Linked DNA regions of Homo sapiens: regions 1 and 3 are each linked to region 2. The links are contacts of gene promoters, found by promoter capture Hi-C in blood cells and fetal thymus (Javierre and others, 2016). All regions are on one chromosome and are shown on one strand. The core of a region is centred on a gene start or on the middle of the fragment in contact, and the rest is flanking DNA. Distances in the headings are between cores, read along the strand shown.

Region 1 (4,740 bases), core at 1,712-4,211, 350 kb after region 2:
GTTTCCTGTCTACAAGCCAGGTAGACAGTCTTCACTAGAATCCAACCATGCTGGCACCCTGATCTCAGACTTCCCAGCCTTCATAACTGTGAGAAATAAATGTCTGTTGTTTAAGCCACCTAGGCCGGGTCTTGGGGCTCACAATATAATCCTGGCGGTTTGGAAGGCCAAGGTGGGAGGAGGCTGAAGCCCAGAGTTCAAGACCCGCCTGGGCAACGGTGAGACCTTGTTTCTACAAAAAAAAGTTTAAAAAAATTAGCTGGGCTTGGTGGTGTGTTCTTGTAGTCCTAGCTGTTTGGGAGGCTGAGATGGAAGGCTCACTTGAGTCTGGGAGATTGAGGCTACAGTGAGCTATGATTGGTCTACTGCACTCTAGCCTGGGTGACAGAGCAAGGCCCTCTTAATAAATAAATATATAAATAGCTACCCAACCTGTACTATGATATTTTGTTATGGCAGCCCAAGCTAAGACATAGAGCCAGGCAAATAGTAAGCCTTCGATGCATCTCACACCATTATTCTTAAAAGGGACATGTCAGGCTGAGCCCAGAAAGGAGAAATTCCCTCTCTATTCTTGAAGTAGCAACAGTTTATAGGGACTCAAGTTTTCTTTTCACGAATTCGAAAGAAACTATACGGACACATTCACCTTACTGAGGTTTCTCTGGCCTTGTCCATTCTGAGCTCCTGTTTTTTCTGCAGAGGTGCTCATTGATACTGACTTGGTGATCTTGAAAGGATTCTCTGTATTTCTCTTTTTTTAAATAGAGATAGGGTCAGTCTTGCCATGTTTACCAGGCTGGTCTGAAACTCTTGGCCTCAAGTGATCCACCTGCCTCAGCCTCCCAAAGTGTTGGGATTACAGGTATGGACCACTGCGCTGGGCCAGGGTTGTCTGTTTTTATATGAATGACCATAAAGTTATTTCACTGATGCCATCAGGAAGCAACCTTATTAATTTTATGTATTTTTGAGCTGATGTTGATAGCAGAAGAGTGGAAAGGAGTCAGACTTTGCTTTAGTCTCGTGATGTAGAAGATCCTAAAGATAGGATTCAAGGTGAGAGTATGATCATTTATATGGCCCTCTTCACCTCACAGAGCTGAATTTACCAATAATTTGGCAGGTATAAGCTAGGAAAATGAAGTAAAAGGGTCCAGACAGTAATATTTTAGAATTCTGTTACCTGCGGGTGGATACTTTCTTCTTTTGAGAATAGAAGATTAGGCTGGGTGCAGTGGCTCATGCCTGTAATCCCAGCACCTTAGAAGGCTGAGGCAGGCAGATCACTTGAGTCTAGGAGTTTGAGACCAGCCTGGGCATCATAGCAAGACCCCGTCTCTACTAAAAATACAAAAAAAAAAAAGTAGCTGGCTGTGGTGGTGTGTGCCTGTAATACCAACTACTCAGGAGGCTGAGGTAAGAGAATCACTTGAACCCAGGAGGTGGAGGTTGCAGTGAGCCAAGATTGTGCCACTGCACTCCAGCCTGAGTGACAGAGCAAGACTCTGTCAGAAAAAAGAAAGAAAAGAGAGAGAGAGAAAGGAAGAGGGGAAGGGAAGGAAGGGAAGGAAGGAAGAGAGAGAGGAAGGAAGGAAGAGAGAGAGAGGAAGGAAGGAAGGAAAAGGAAGGAAGGAAGGGAACAGAAGATTAGTTGAGCATAGTGGCTCAGTGCCTGTAATCCCAGCACTTTGGGAGGCCGAGGTAGGCAGATCATTTGAGCCTAGGAGTTCAAGACCAGCCTGGGAAACATGGCAAAATCCCATCTCTACAAAAAATAGAAAAATTAGCTGGGCATTGTGGCATGCATCTGTAGTCCCAGCTACTTGTGGGGCTGATGCAGGAGGGTCACTTGAGCCCAGGAGGCAGAGGTTGCAGTGAAGTATGATTATGCCACTGCACTCCAGCCTAGGTGGCAGAGTGAGACTCTGTCTCAAAAAAAAAAAAAAAAAAAAGAAGATTGTGAGCAAAAATTGAATGCAATTTTTTTCATAAGCAGAGGTGTAATGGTTATTATTACAAAAGATGATATTAAATTTATTTATGTATTATCTCTTTGCCTCCACCAGAATGTAAGCTTTGTTGAAGGCAAGGATCATTGTTGATTTATTTACTCTGTATCCCAGGCATCTAAAACAGTAAGTGTGCAATAAATATTTGTTGAATGAATCAAAGCATAAGCAAGGCTTCAGATTCATTTTTCTATCAGAGATTCATTTAAAAATGTTAAGGAAATGAGAGGTGAAGACATCCTAAAGGCATAATACTCAAAGTAGTCAGTAGGTTCATTGATAACCCAGAGGAAAATATATAATATTATAGAGGAAAAGAAATTCTCTGAAATCATGGCATCTCTCCTAGCTTGGGATAACATTTTAGCAGAAAGACCGAAGAACTCTTCCAAGAAACATCAAGCAATTAAATGAAGTAGTAGAAAAATCACCAGTACTTTAAAGTAGATGAAGCCATTAAAATAGTTGCAGCTTCAGTAATCACCATGTAAGCCTGTAAGTGGTGGGTCTTAGACCACAACATGGTAGTTATCAAATTGCTTTATTCATCGAAATGTTCATTCTCCTGGCTGCCCTTGAACTTCCAGCCTAAGGCTTTCTCTCTGCAGGGTTGTCAGCATGCTCATGCAAGGCTTTGCCTCTGCAGATTATCAGAGGTGTACTCCATGCCCCTCTCACCATGAAAAAAGGGAGAAAAAGACAATTTCGTCTCAGAGATAGAAAATCTCCCAGAGAGAACCCCTGGCAGCTGGAATCCATTTTTTTCCCCCTGAAGCTGGAATCTGTTATAACTACAGAACACTGAAGGATAATGAGGTTCTGCTGCTAAGCAAATGCTGGGACAAAAAGCACAGAGGTGCTGCAGCCAGGCAGAGACTGGGCTTTTCATGAAACCCTGTGTCTCTGAGCACATATTGCAATAATTCTCTGACTAGCTGCTCAAGGCCTTGGCTTCGTGGCTTTTTACTCCGTTTAAAGGTCTTGATCAGGCCACTTCCGTTTTTAATGTTTGAGAAATGTCTGATTTATGCTGCTTCAAAGTGGAACTTGGGTTTCTATTACCTTTTTGGCACCTTGCACCCATTGTTGGCCTAATTCTGCTGTCTCGTCTATCTTGTGGTTCCTATCAGTAAACAAAGTCCAGGAGAGGCGTCATGCTTGTGAACACCTCCAACATCAAGTTCAAAAGTACAATCATGACCTTGTCCTGTCGTTCTCAGAATCTGGGCTCAGCTATTTCAAACCTCCCATGTCTTCACTGGTAGTGGTCAATTAGAAATCACTGAATCCTTTCCCTAGAGTGGTCAGAGACAGCCAGTTTATGGTAATTTGGGCACAAGTGCCAATTGGAAAGGTGCATTATTCAAACCACTTTGGCTACAAGTGACAGAAATTCAATGCAGGTTAGCTTAAATAAAAAAGGAATTCGGGCTGGGAACAGTGGCTCATGCCTATAATCCCAGCATTTTGGGAGGCCGAGGCGGGTGGATCACCTAAGGTCAGAAGTTCTAAACCAGCCCGGGCAACACGGTGAAACCCTGCCTGTACTATAAATACAAAAAATTAGCCAGGCATGGTAGTGCACGCCTGTAGTCCCAGCTACTCTGGAGGCTGAGGCAGAAGAATCACTTGAACCCGGGAGGTGGAAGTTGCAGTGAGCCAAGATCACGCCACTGTACTCCAGCCTGGGCGACAGTGAGACTCTGTCTCAAAAAAAAAGAAAAAAAGAAAAAAAAGGGAATTTATTGGCTTCTGTAGCTGAAAAGTCAGGCAGATTTGGATCTCAAATTATGTCATTAACTAGTTTCTCTGACTTACCCTCTGCGTTGTGTATAAGCTTTTCATCGCATGGCAGCAAGATACCTCCATGTTCACATAGGGCTAACAGCCCAAGATGGTGAGGAAACATGCACTTTTGTTCCAGTAGCACAGAAAAAGTCCCCAGGTGGACGCTAATGGGCACTGTATGAGTCAAGTGCTCATGGCTGAGGCAGTAGTTGTACCTTGACACATGAAGTCCTCTGACCAGATCTGGGCATGTACCTGACCTTGGGGATGGAAGTGAGGCAGTCCAGCTCCACCAACTCGTAAGGACTGAGACAGTTTACTAGGGAAGAGGGGAAAGCGTGTTTCTTACAGGAAGAAATGCGGGCAGACAAAACACCATATACCCCTTAAATTAGGTTTTCCACAGATAATTGAGGTGGAGCAGAAGGGTAACCACATTTTGACAGCATCATCAGTATGTGGTGAGTGGCCCAGCATTTGACCCTGGCCTCTGTGGTCATCTCAGAGCCCAGAAAGTAGCAGCAGAAGAGCAGAGCATGGGTAGGTAACCATCAGTTCTTGGATAACTGAAGGGTGATCTTGAGGAGCAGTGAGTCTGTGGGATGGCCATGCCTAACAAATGTCATCCAGTTCAGAGCACCAAGGACATTCCCAGCTATGGCTTTTATCTTTTATCTTCTTCTTCTTCTGGTTTTGCTCTGTCACCCAGGCTGGAGTGTAGTGGCATGATCTCGGCTCACTGCAACCTCTGCCTCCCAGGTTCAAGCAATCCTCCCACCTCAGCCCCCTGCGTAGCTGGGACTGCAGCTGAGCGCCACTACACCCAGCTAATTTTTGTATGTTTTGTAGAGATGGGGTTTCACCATGTTGATCATGCTGGTCTTGAAGTCCTAGGCTCAAGCAATCTGCCTGCCTTGGGCTCCCACAATGTTGGGATTAC
Region 2 (4,593 bases), core at 799-3,298:
GAGCCACTGCTTTACTCCAAAGAGAAAGTTCTTAGCCAAGTTTACTGCCAGTAACTCTTAGGTTACTACGTACTTCCCCAAGAACTGCTCAAAGCAATGACTTACCACTCTCCTGGTACAGTTATCATAGGTAGCCCTCAGGGTGAGCTTTTCTGGGTCCAGGATGTAAGTGCAGTTCGGCATGTCGAGACCAAGAGGATCTGCCAAGGCCAGAGCAGGTTAGACAGGATGGCTGAGTACATTTCAGTGACAGTCCAAAGCTATAGAGTCAAGACCACCAGTCCATTTCTAAGGTACTTCAGTCCCTTCACTTCCGCCCCAACTCAGTGATAGAACTTGAGCTTTGAGATGGTATGACTTGCAGCCAGAGGCTTCCCAGAGATGCTGGCATAAGACACACTTTCGAAGACAGACAGGTCTTCCATGCTGGGTGGCTTCATGCAAATCAGGTATCCCCATGGCATCATGGGAGTTGGATGCCGTTGCTGCAGGAGTTTGGGTACTCTGCTCCCCAAACAGGATTGACCTAAGCCAAAGGCTGTCTGCTAATCAGGACTATGAGGAGATAACACACGTTACCTACCCACCACAGATGCATGCCATTTCTTGGTGCCAGGACTGCTTGGGAACTCCACTGTTATTTCCCTTTCATCGCAAGTGACAGTGCCTAAGGAGCAAAGGAAGCATTTGGGGGCTTTGAGTCATGAGTGATGCAACTCCTACAAAAGTGTATAGACTCCTCTCAGATGGGAGGGATTCCAGATGAGGGAGGCAAGAATCGTCCCCTACCCTGGGAGAGCTCACAAACAAGTGACCAAGACAACAATACAATATGCCAAGAACTGTAAGGAAAATATCAGGTACCCAGGGCTTTTGAAGTGTTCCAGTAAGAAGCCCAGGTTAGGGTTGACAAGCAGGTCTGTAGGAGCCAGGTCAACACCTTGACAGTGGAGCAGATGGAGGCAGGCCCGAAAAACTGACAAAAGCTTTGTCAACAGGTTTTGCAAATTGATGTTAAACAAAGTCCTGGGTAAGTCCCAGGACTTTTATTTATTTATTTATTTATTTTGAGACGGAGTCTCTCTGTCACCCAGGCTGGAGTGCAGTGGCACGATCTCAACCCACCTCAACCTCCGCCTCCCAGGTTCAAGCGATTCTCCTGCCTCAGCCTCCCAAGTAGCTGGGATTACATGTGCCCACCACCACACCCAGCTAGTTTTTGTATTTTTGGTAGAGATGGGGTTTCACCACATTGGCCAGGCTGGTCTCAAACTCCTGAGCTCAGGTGATCTGCCCGCCTTGGCTTCCCAAAGTTCTGGGATTACAGGCGTGAGCCCCGGCGCCTGGCTGCATTTTTTTTTTTTTTTTTAAAGATCAAGTTTTGCCCATCATCTGCTACTCTGCAGCCTCTGGCTCAGGTGAACGTCAAGTGAGCAGCTCCAGTTTTGCTTGTTATGTCGATGTTTTCCTTAAGCATGAGTTTGTGTTTGAAGATTGCTGCTCCTAAAGATGAGGGCTTAGTGTGGTGGTTTGCTGTTCTGTGGATACCATAAAGCTTGAGGCAGTGAGGGATTGGAAGGCAGTGCAAGTGTTTGAGTTTTCATTTAGCAGGTATAGTGAGTCTACAGGTTAGCAGAAGAAAGATCCAGTAACCTGACCAAGGTAATAAAGGGGGTGAATGGAGGTTGTCTGAGCCAGGCCTGTGTTTCTTGGCCAGCTAGGCCTTCCAGCTGCAACCTGTTTTCTCTGCTAAGAAGACTTCTGTCACCCAAGAGACATACCTGGAAAGGCAGGATTTACCAACTGAGAAACATCTATGGAGTTCCCTGAAGTCACAAGGGCGAAGAAGAGAGAAATCGACCTGTAGGTGCTGGAAAGAGACAGGGAGATAGTCAAGGAAGAATGGACTTTAACAAACAAAGCTACCATACCCCCTCCCTCCACTTCCAGAATTACTCACCTCCAGCCTGCATTGAACCAGCCTGAGGGACTCCAAGAGCCTCCTCTCTGCCTGCACGCCATAGCAGAAGACACTACCAGATCAACCAGGTAGAGGGTAGGCTGCTCTGTGTTTTTATAGCAGGAAGCCAGCCGCATCCACACCCTCTCCCCATTGGGGGCACCTGAATCTTGTCCCATTCTCCCAGCTGAAACGGAAGGATTGGGGAAGGAAGTGGCCTCTGATTCCTGACAGCTTGCGCCGGGTATTCTGCCAGCTGCCCTGTGGGCCAGGCATGAAATCAGAGTTTGCTGAAATCAGCTCCAGGTGAGTGAATTGGTGTTTTCCCTATAACTATGGGGGAAATTAGGATCTTTTGGGCAAATTATTTACAACTGCAATGTAGAGCCAAAGAGAATCATGGGCTTTATTGAGAAAAAAACAAGTCTTGTTCACACCACTACATTTTTTTTTTTTTTTTGAGATTCAGTTTCACTCTGTCACCCAGGCTGGAGTGCACTGGTGCAATCTCGGCTCACTGCAACCTCTGCCTCCTGGGTTCAAGCAATTCTCCTGCCTCAGCCTCCTGAGTAGCTGGGATTACAGGTGCACGCCACCACACCTGGCTAATTTTTGTATTTTGAGTAAAGATTGGGTTTCACCGTGTTGGTCAGGGTGGTCTCGAACTCCTGACCTAGGTGATCCACGTGCCTCGGCCTCCCAAAGTGCTGGGATTACAGGCGTGAGCCATTGCACCTACCCTAAAACCTTTTAAGTAACATCTAGTCTTCTGGCTACTGCAGAAGTTACCCTGATAATGCACAGGAAGTGTCTTTAAAAAAATGAATGAAGCCTTGTTGACCCCCAAGTGTAAAAGCTTAAGCTTACCGCAAAGATACAATTTCAGAAGGATACAGAGAAAAGGCAAAAGTCACTCATAATAGTGCCACTGCTAATATTTAGGTGAGTAACTTTAGACATGTTTCTACAAACACCACACACAATTTTTTTAAAACACTGGGAGGAAAGTTTAAATACTGTTTTGTAATCTGCTACTGTCACTTTATAACTATTAAACATAAAGCTCTCTGTTACCATTTTAGGGTGGCATAATATTCAATTTGAGATAAATCTGTGTTTATATAATTTCCTTAATTATGAGCATAAGGTGGCTTGTAATTTTTCATCATTATAAGCAGTAACATGATGAGCATTCTGATACATATCCTTGGGTAACCCTCAAGATAAATTCCTCAAAGTAAAACTTCTGGGTAAAAGGGAGTAGTGATCTAATAAGAATGTTATATTGTTGTAAAGCACTTGGAAGTTTCCCAGTGGGGAAACTGAGGCAAGGCAACTTGCCCCAACAATGTCAGGGACCAGGTGGAGAACTCAGATTTCCTGAGGCCTGATGGTTGTGTTTTTTCAACATCTCTCACACTCTTTGAGATAACTAGATGTCTGCAGCCCATGTTCCAAAATAGGTGGATATAAGGCTTAGACTCCATTCAAGTGGTGGGTGACACTTGCAATTATTAGGCTGGTGCAAAAGTGATTGCAGTTTTTGCCGCTACTTTTATGTATGTATGTATGTATTTGAGATGGAGTCTTGCTCTGTTGCCCAGGTGGGAGTGCAGTGGCGCAATCTTGGCTCACTGCAACCTCTGCCTCCTGGATTCAAGCGATTCTCCTGCCTCAGCCTCCCGGGTAGCTGGGATTACAGGCGCCCACCACCAAGCCCAGCTAATTTTTGTATTTTTGGTAGAGACAGGGTTTCACCATGTTGGCCAGGCTGGTCTCGAACTCCTGGCCTCAAGTGATCCAACCGTGTCAGCCTCCCAAAGTGCTGGGATTACAGGCGTGAGCCACTGTGCCCGGCCCTTTGCCACTAATTTTAATGGCAAAAACTGCAATTATTTTTGCATCATCCTAAACTGTATTGATTCATGTGTTGCCTTTGAGGTGTAACCTGAGGCATCTGAAATAACATTGGAGATTAACTGTTTCCCTGACTTCCTTGATCAAAAGGATCACATGGAGCTCTCATTAATATCACAGATTCCAGGGTCCCACCCAAAAGCTGCTGAATTAGACTCTCCAGAAGATGTGCCTGGGAAATATTTACTTAACGAGCACCACAGGTGATTCTTATAATCAGGAAAACCTGGAAAATACTTGGAGGGAGCGAGGCGAGAAAATCTGTGGTGGCCAGTGGTTAACCTCCTTACGGGAATTGAGTAGATTACATCCCAGCGGAATTGGGAAGAAGGAGCAAAATACAGATAAGTTTTTGGGGATAGAGATGGTAAAAGGATTTCATTTTATAGCCAAAGCATGATAGCAATAGTTTCTCCTTCTATGCATATTTTTCTGAAAAGTGGCACCTTTTCTACAAATATAATTTATTGCCACAATGGTTAAGACTATGATAAGACATTAGAGGAAAAAGGAGCATAGACGTGAGACTCAGAGCCCTATTGAGAAGGTGGTCAGAGAAGTGATGGGTTAATGTGCTTATTCAGCCTCCCTCAGACCCCACCTCCCTTCCCACCGCGCTACTCACTCCCCTCGAGATGGTGTCTTTCTCCAGAGCGGGAAGTTTTTGCCTTGGAAAGGGCAGCTTTGGTCAGAGCCCCCAAATTTGGGGTTTCTAA
Region 3 (4,714 bases), core at 519-3,018, 370 kb before region 2:
CATTTTACATTCCTACCAGCAAAGAACAAAGGTTCCAACTTATCTACATCTTCACTGACACTTGTTTTCTATTTTATTTAATAGTAGCCATCCTAATGGATGTGAAATGGTATCTCATTTGGGTTTGATTTGCGTTTCCCTAATGATTAGTGATGTTGAGTGTCGCAGGCAATTTGTACATCTTTTACAGCAAAGTCTATTCACTTGTTTGCCCTTTTTTTCTTATTTATTTTTTTCAGTTCCAGCTACTCTGCAGTGTTTGCCCATTTTTAAATCAGGTTGTTTGGCTTTTTTATTGTTGAATTGTAGGATTTCTCTGTACATTCTGGATATTAATCTTTTATTAGCTATGTGATTGCAACTATTTCTCCATTCTGTGGGTTGCTTTTTGACACTGCTGTTAGTGTCCTTTGATATACAAAAGGTTTTAATTTTTATGAAGTCTAATTTGTCTATTTTTAATTTTGTTGCCTGCCTTTGATGTCATATTCAAGAAACCATTGCCAAATCCAGTGTCATGAAACTTTTCTATGGGAAGGCTTTTATCTCCATATTGATGCTATGGCTCAGATAATCACAAAGATTTAGTTACTCCGAGTTAACAAACAGAAAAGCAGACCATTTGAAGATGTAGCCTATCCAGTGGAAGAACTTATCCTTCCCAAGCTTATAAAGTTAAGCCAAAAGACAAATGGGAATCTCTGCCCGTGACTTGCAGTGATGACTTTAGTGATGCATAATAAATATTATGAAAAGCCTGTTGGGTAGTTCCATTTTAAATGACAAAGTTATTTGTTGTCTGAAAGCTAGTTTCTGAACTTTGATGATCCCATTTAAAGTTGACAGTTTACAATCAATACTTGTGTAGCCCAGCACAGTAAAGGCATCCATTCTGGTGGCTTTGGCCACTGTAGTTTGAATCCTTTCCCCAACCCCTTCTTTAGCAGTTTGAGCTGGAAAGCAATGATGAGGAAATCTTGGTCTTTCTGCAGCCTCATCTCTGTATACAGTATGAAGTCCTAGAAGCTGCCCAGCTGGCCATAGAATCCTTGGATGGTATTCTGGTAGATGGTATCTGCATCAAGGTAGGGTGACAAGAGAAAGCCCCCTTTGCTTGGGTCTGGCCTACCACAGCCTGTATTTATAGTGCCCCAGGACATATAGGAAACACTCTCAAGAGGCCCACGCACAAGACTTTGTTATGGAAAGTCTTCAGCCAAGTCTAACATTCTCCTACTGGCAGTGATTGAAGACATAACGGCTTTCATTTGTGTCAGAAATCATCCTGGGCTAGATTTGGGTCTTCCTTGCATTCTTTGTTACTACTTAAGTCCCCTGTGGTTTATTCTGGTTGGTTCTTTGTGGTTACCCTTTTCTTCACCTTTCAGGGAGATCAAATGGTGGTATTTTGAAGTTTCTTGTGCACATAAACAGAATTTCATTAAGGGTGGGAGGCAGGAAACTGAAGAGAATATGTTTACATGAAAATATGTATTTATCAATTAAGTCTCTAACATAATTCTGTGAGGCCATTATCTTTAGTTTCCTTTTACAGAAAAGAAAAGAAACGGAAAATTTTAGGAAACTGAAAAATGAAGTTATTAGTAATGGCAACAACTTGCTAGTATCCAATAGGCCTGAGGATTAAATTGATTTTCTACCACTAACACCAACTTTCCTTGGTTAGGTGCAGAGGCCTGTGACAGAGCTCACGCTTGATTGTGACACCCTCGTGAATGAGCTGGAAGGAGATTCTGAAAACCAAGGCTCTATATATCTGTCTGGAGTGAGTGAAACCTTCAAAGAACAGCTATTGCAGGAGCCCCGCCTCTTTCTTGGCCTGGAAGCTGTGATCTTGCCTAAAGATCTTAAAAGTGGAAAGCAGAAAAAATACTGTTTCCTGAGTAAGTCTATGCTACTGAATGTAGCTTTGGGGAAGGAAACTGGGGATGGTGATAACATGAGGTCAGAGAAAGGAAGATTCACCTCCTGGGCTGGACCAGGGCAGCAGTTCCTGATTCTGTCCTTCTCCTTTGACCCTGGCCAGGCAGCTTGGATGGTGATCAGCTTTCTTGGCCCTTAATAACATAAGGTGGGGGTTCTTGCTTTCAGAATTCAAAAGTTTTGGCAGTGCCCAGCAGGCCCTCAACATTCTCACAGGCAAGGACTGGAAGCTGAAAGGCAGGCATGCCCTAACCCCCAGGCACCTCCATGCCTGGCTCAGAGGCTTACCACCTGAATCAACAAGGCTCCCAGGGCTTCGTGTTGTACCTCCCCCCTTTGAACAGGAGGCCTTGCAGGTGAGTGAGTGAAGGCGTCTTGGAGAAGATGTCAGGAGAGTCCTGCTCAGTGACACTTAATCCTTTAATCTTTTTTTTTTTTCTACCCTGGCCCTCAGTCTTATTTCACTCTCCAGCTTCCTCCAGTCCTGGCCACATCTTTTCTCGCAGATCTCTCATACTTTTGCCCCCACCATACCTGCTAAACTTAGTTTTTTAGTCTTCCAGATCTCCAAGGGACTTTGAAGGACAAAGGCAGGAAGTCAGAGAGCTGGACAATTATTCAGTGATCTAGTCTAGGGTTTCCCAAAGTGTGGTATATACACAAGATAAATTGTGGTTGTCATAGATGGTCTTTTCTTTTTTGTTTTCACTTTTATGATTATGGACTTGTCCGTCTTTTTATTATATCTAAGACATCTGAATGGACTTGTTTTGCTAATACTTGTTAAAGTATACAATAACTACATTGAGCCTATGATTTTGTGGATGGCATTAGTTAGACAAGGCTAAGGAAGAAATTAACTCACTTTATGGAAAAATGTTAGAGGGATATACAAGCAGAAGAGTGGAGGTAGAAGGTAAATGGCTGAAGCTTGGGAAACCCTGTCTTAGTCTAATCTCTCATACTTAACAGATGAAAAGTAGGGGCTAGAGTTGGTAAGTCACTTGCCCAAGGTCACAAAGAGACTTAATGGCAGAAGCCAGACTAGACCCCTCATCAGCAATGTGGCTCCCCTAGCTTGGGGTCTTGGAAGACCCATGTGGAGGAAAGGACAGTAGCTGTCCTCCCCTGAGGAAGTCCTTAGCCAACTTGGAGGCCTGGGGATGCTGGGTCAGCAGAGAACCTGCAGTGTGGGCTCCAGTGTTAGAAAAGGGATTTGTCTGGAACCTTTACTGGAATCCCATAGCCTTAGAGGCAGAGGAAGAGTGTTGCAGCCCTTCCAAAGGTAACGAGAGAGTGTTCTGGCTGAGTATCGACACATGGCTTTGATCCCAGACTCTGAAACTGGACCACCCGAAGATAGCAGCCTGGCGCTGGAGCCGGAAGATTGGAAAGCTCTACAACAGCTTGTGCCCGGGCACTCTCTGCCTCATCCTGCTGCCAGGAACCAAGAGGTAAGGACTAGAAAGGGTATCCCTTCAGGACTCTGTCCCCTGGATTTCAGCTGTTCTTAGAGAAAAAGCCTTTTGCTGATATTTAGGCACATAGTGAGGACTTACATGAATCATCTCTTTAATTTTCACCGTTCTAAAAGATAGGCATTGTATTCCCATTTCACATTTATATGCTCTTGTATAACTACATTTATTGGTCCCTCAAGGAGATAATTTATCCCCAGTTAAAACCAGGAGTCTTATGTCCTTACTGCTCTCTGGAGTAAGAAGTAGCTGCTAACCCCACTTGAGTAAAAAAAGTAAAGTCTCAGAACAAGCCCTAGGCTTAGGTGTAACCACTCTACATGTGAGGAATGTGTTCCTGCCTTCTGTACCCTTTTCCCCATTGACACCTATGTTTTAAGAGATAACAGGGCCTGGTTTGCTGATTCTAAGCCTGAGGAATACTGGAGCAGGACTTTGAGTCTAGTTGCAGCTTTATCACCTATCTCCTCTGACAAGTGGCCAAGCTACTTCCCCACTGTAGGTCTCAATGTCCTTTTAGTAACATGAGGGATTTGGAATAAATCAGTTGATTTTCAAACCCTTTTAACTGTAAACCCTTTCTTTAAAGAAAAACTGATATTAAATCTTAAAGCATAAAGATGGGCAGTTTTGGAATGAGTGAGTGGGCAGCTAAATGAATGAGTGTATATTGGGGAAGGGAGGGAAAGATGGTGGCTTTTTTGAACAGTGTGAAAACCTTGGGTTGTGTTAATTTTTAAAAGTCCCTTGAGATTCTGACATCTGGTTAGGCGCAGTGGCTCATGCCTATAATCCTAGCACTTTAGAAGGCCAAGGTGAGCGGAGCACTTGAGCTCAGGAGTTCAAGACCAGACTAGGCAACATGACAAGACCCTGTCTCTACCAAAAACACACACACAAAAAAAAAAACAAAAAAAAAAAACCCAGCCAGGTTTGGTGTTGTGTGCCTGTGGTCCCAACTACTTGGGAGGCTGAGGCACGAGAATCACTTGAACCCAGGGGGCAGAGGTTGCAGTGAGCTGAGATTGCACCACTGCACTCCAGCCTGGGCTACAGAGTAAGACTCTTATCTCAAAAAAAAAAAAAAAAAAAGATTCTTACATTCTAGGAGTTGACAGAGCATGAATACCTCTGGCCTTGAAGGTGGATCAGAAGAAATTCATTTCCTAGCATAAAGTTCTTATAACATGCATCTGAGGACCATTAGGGAGATGGTCTACCTACTGGGCACCTTTGAAAGAACCGCTTTCTCTGAAAAGCAGAAACAAGTATTAGGTGCTTACATTGAGGGG

What was found. The method cuts DNA at HindIII sites, captures the fragments that hold promoters and counts their contacts. A CHiCAGO score of 5 or more calls a contact.
Region 1: a fragment that was not itself captured here is called in contact with the fragment with the promoter of ZP2 in region 2 in 5 of 17 cell types (naive B cells, total B cells, total CD4 T cells and 2 more); the score reaches 15.0 in naive B cells.
Region 3: a contact is called between a fragment that was not itself captured here and the fragment with the promoter of ZP2 in region 2, in 1 of 17 cell types (naive B cells). The highest score is 5.4, in naive B cells.

The regions. Positions count from the first base shown.
Region 1 is chr16:21,563,006-21,567,745 of GRCh38, forward strand. No RefSeq gene overlaps it. Among named protein-coding and RNA genes, the nearest start is that of METTL9, 34 kb to the right of the region's middle. The HindIII fragment of the contact is 1,772 bases long and covers 2,076-3,847 here.
Region 2 is chr16:21,209,526-21,214,118 of GRCh38, forward strand. It overlaps ZP2 (zona pellucida glycoprotein 2), which reads right to left and starts at 2,049. Exons shown (of 19, transcript NM_001376232.1): 1 at 1,961-2,049; 2 at 1,782-1,870; 3 at 584-667; 4 at 106-200. The coding sequence starts at 2,022. The HindIII fragment of the contact is 1,261 bases long and covers 1,554-2,814 here.
Region 3 is chr16:20,842,942-20,847,655 of GRCh38, forward strand. REXO5 (RNA exonuclease 5) reads left to right here. Exons shown (of 20, transcript NM_030941.3): 16 at 993-1,085; 17 at 1,688-1,904; 18 at 2,113-2,300; 19 at 3,280-3,398. Among named protein-coding and RNA genes, the nearest start is that of REXO5, 39 kb to the left of the region's middle. The HindIII fragment of the contact is 2,208 bases long and covers 665-2,872 here.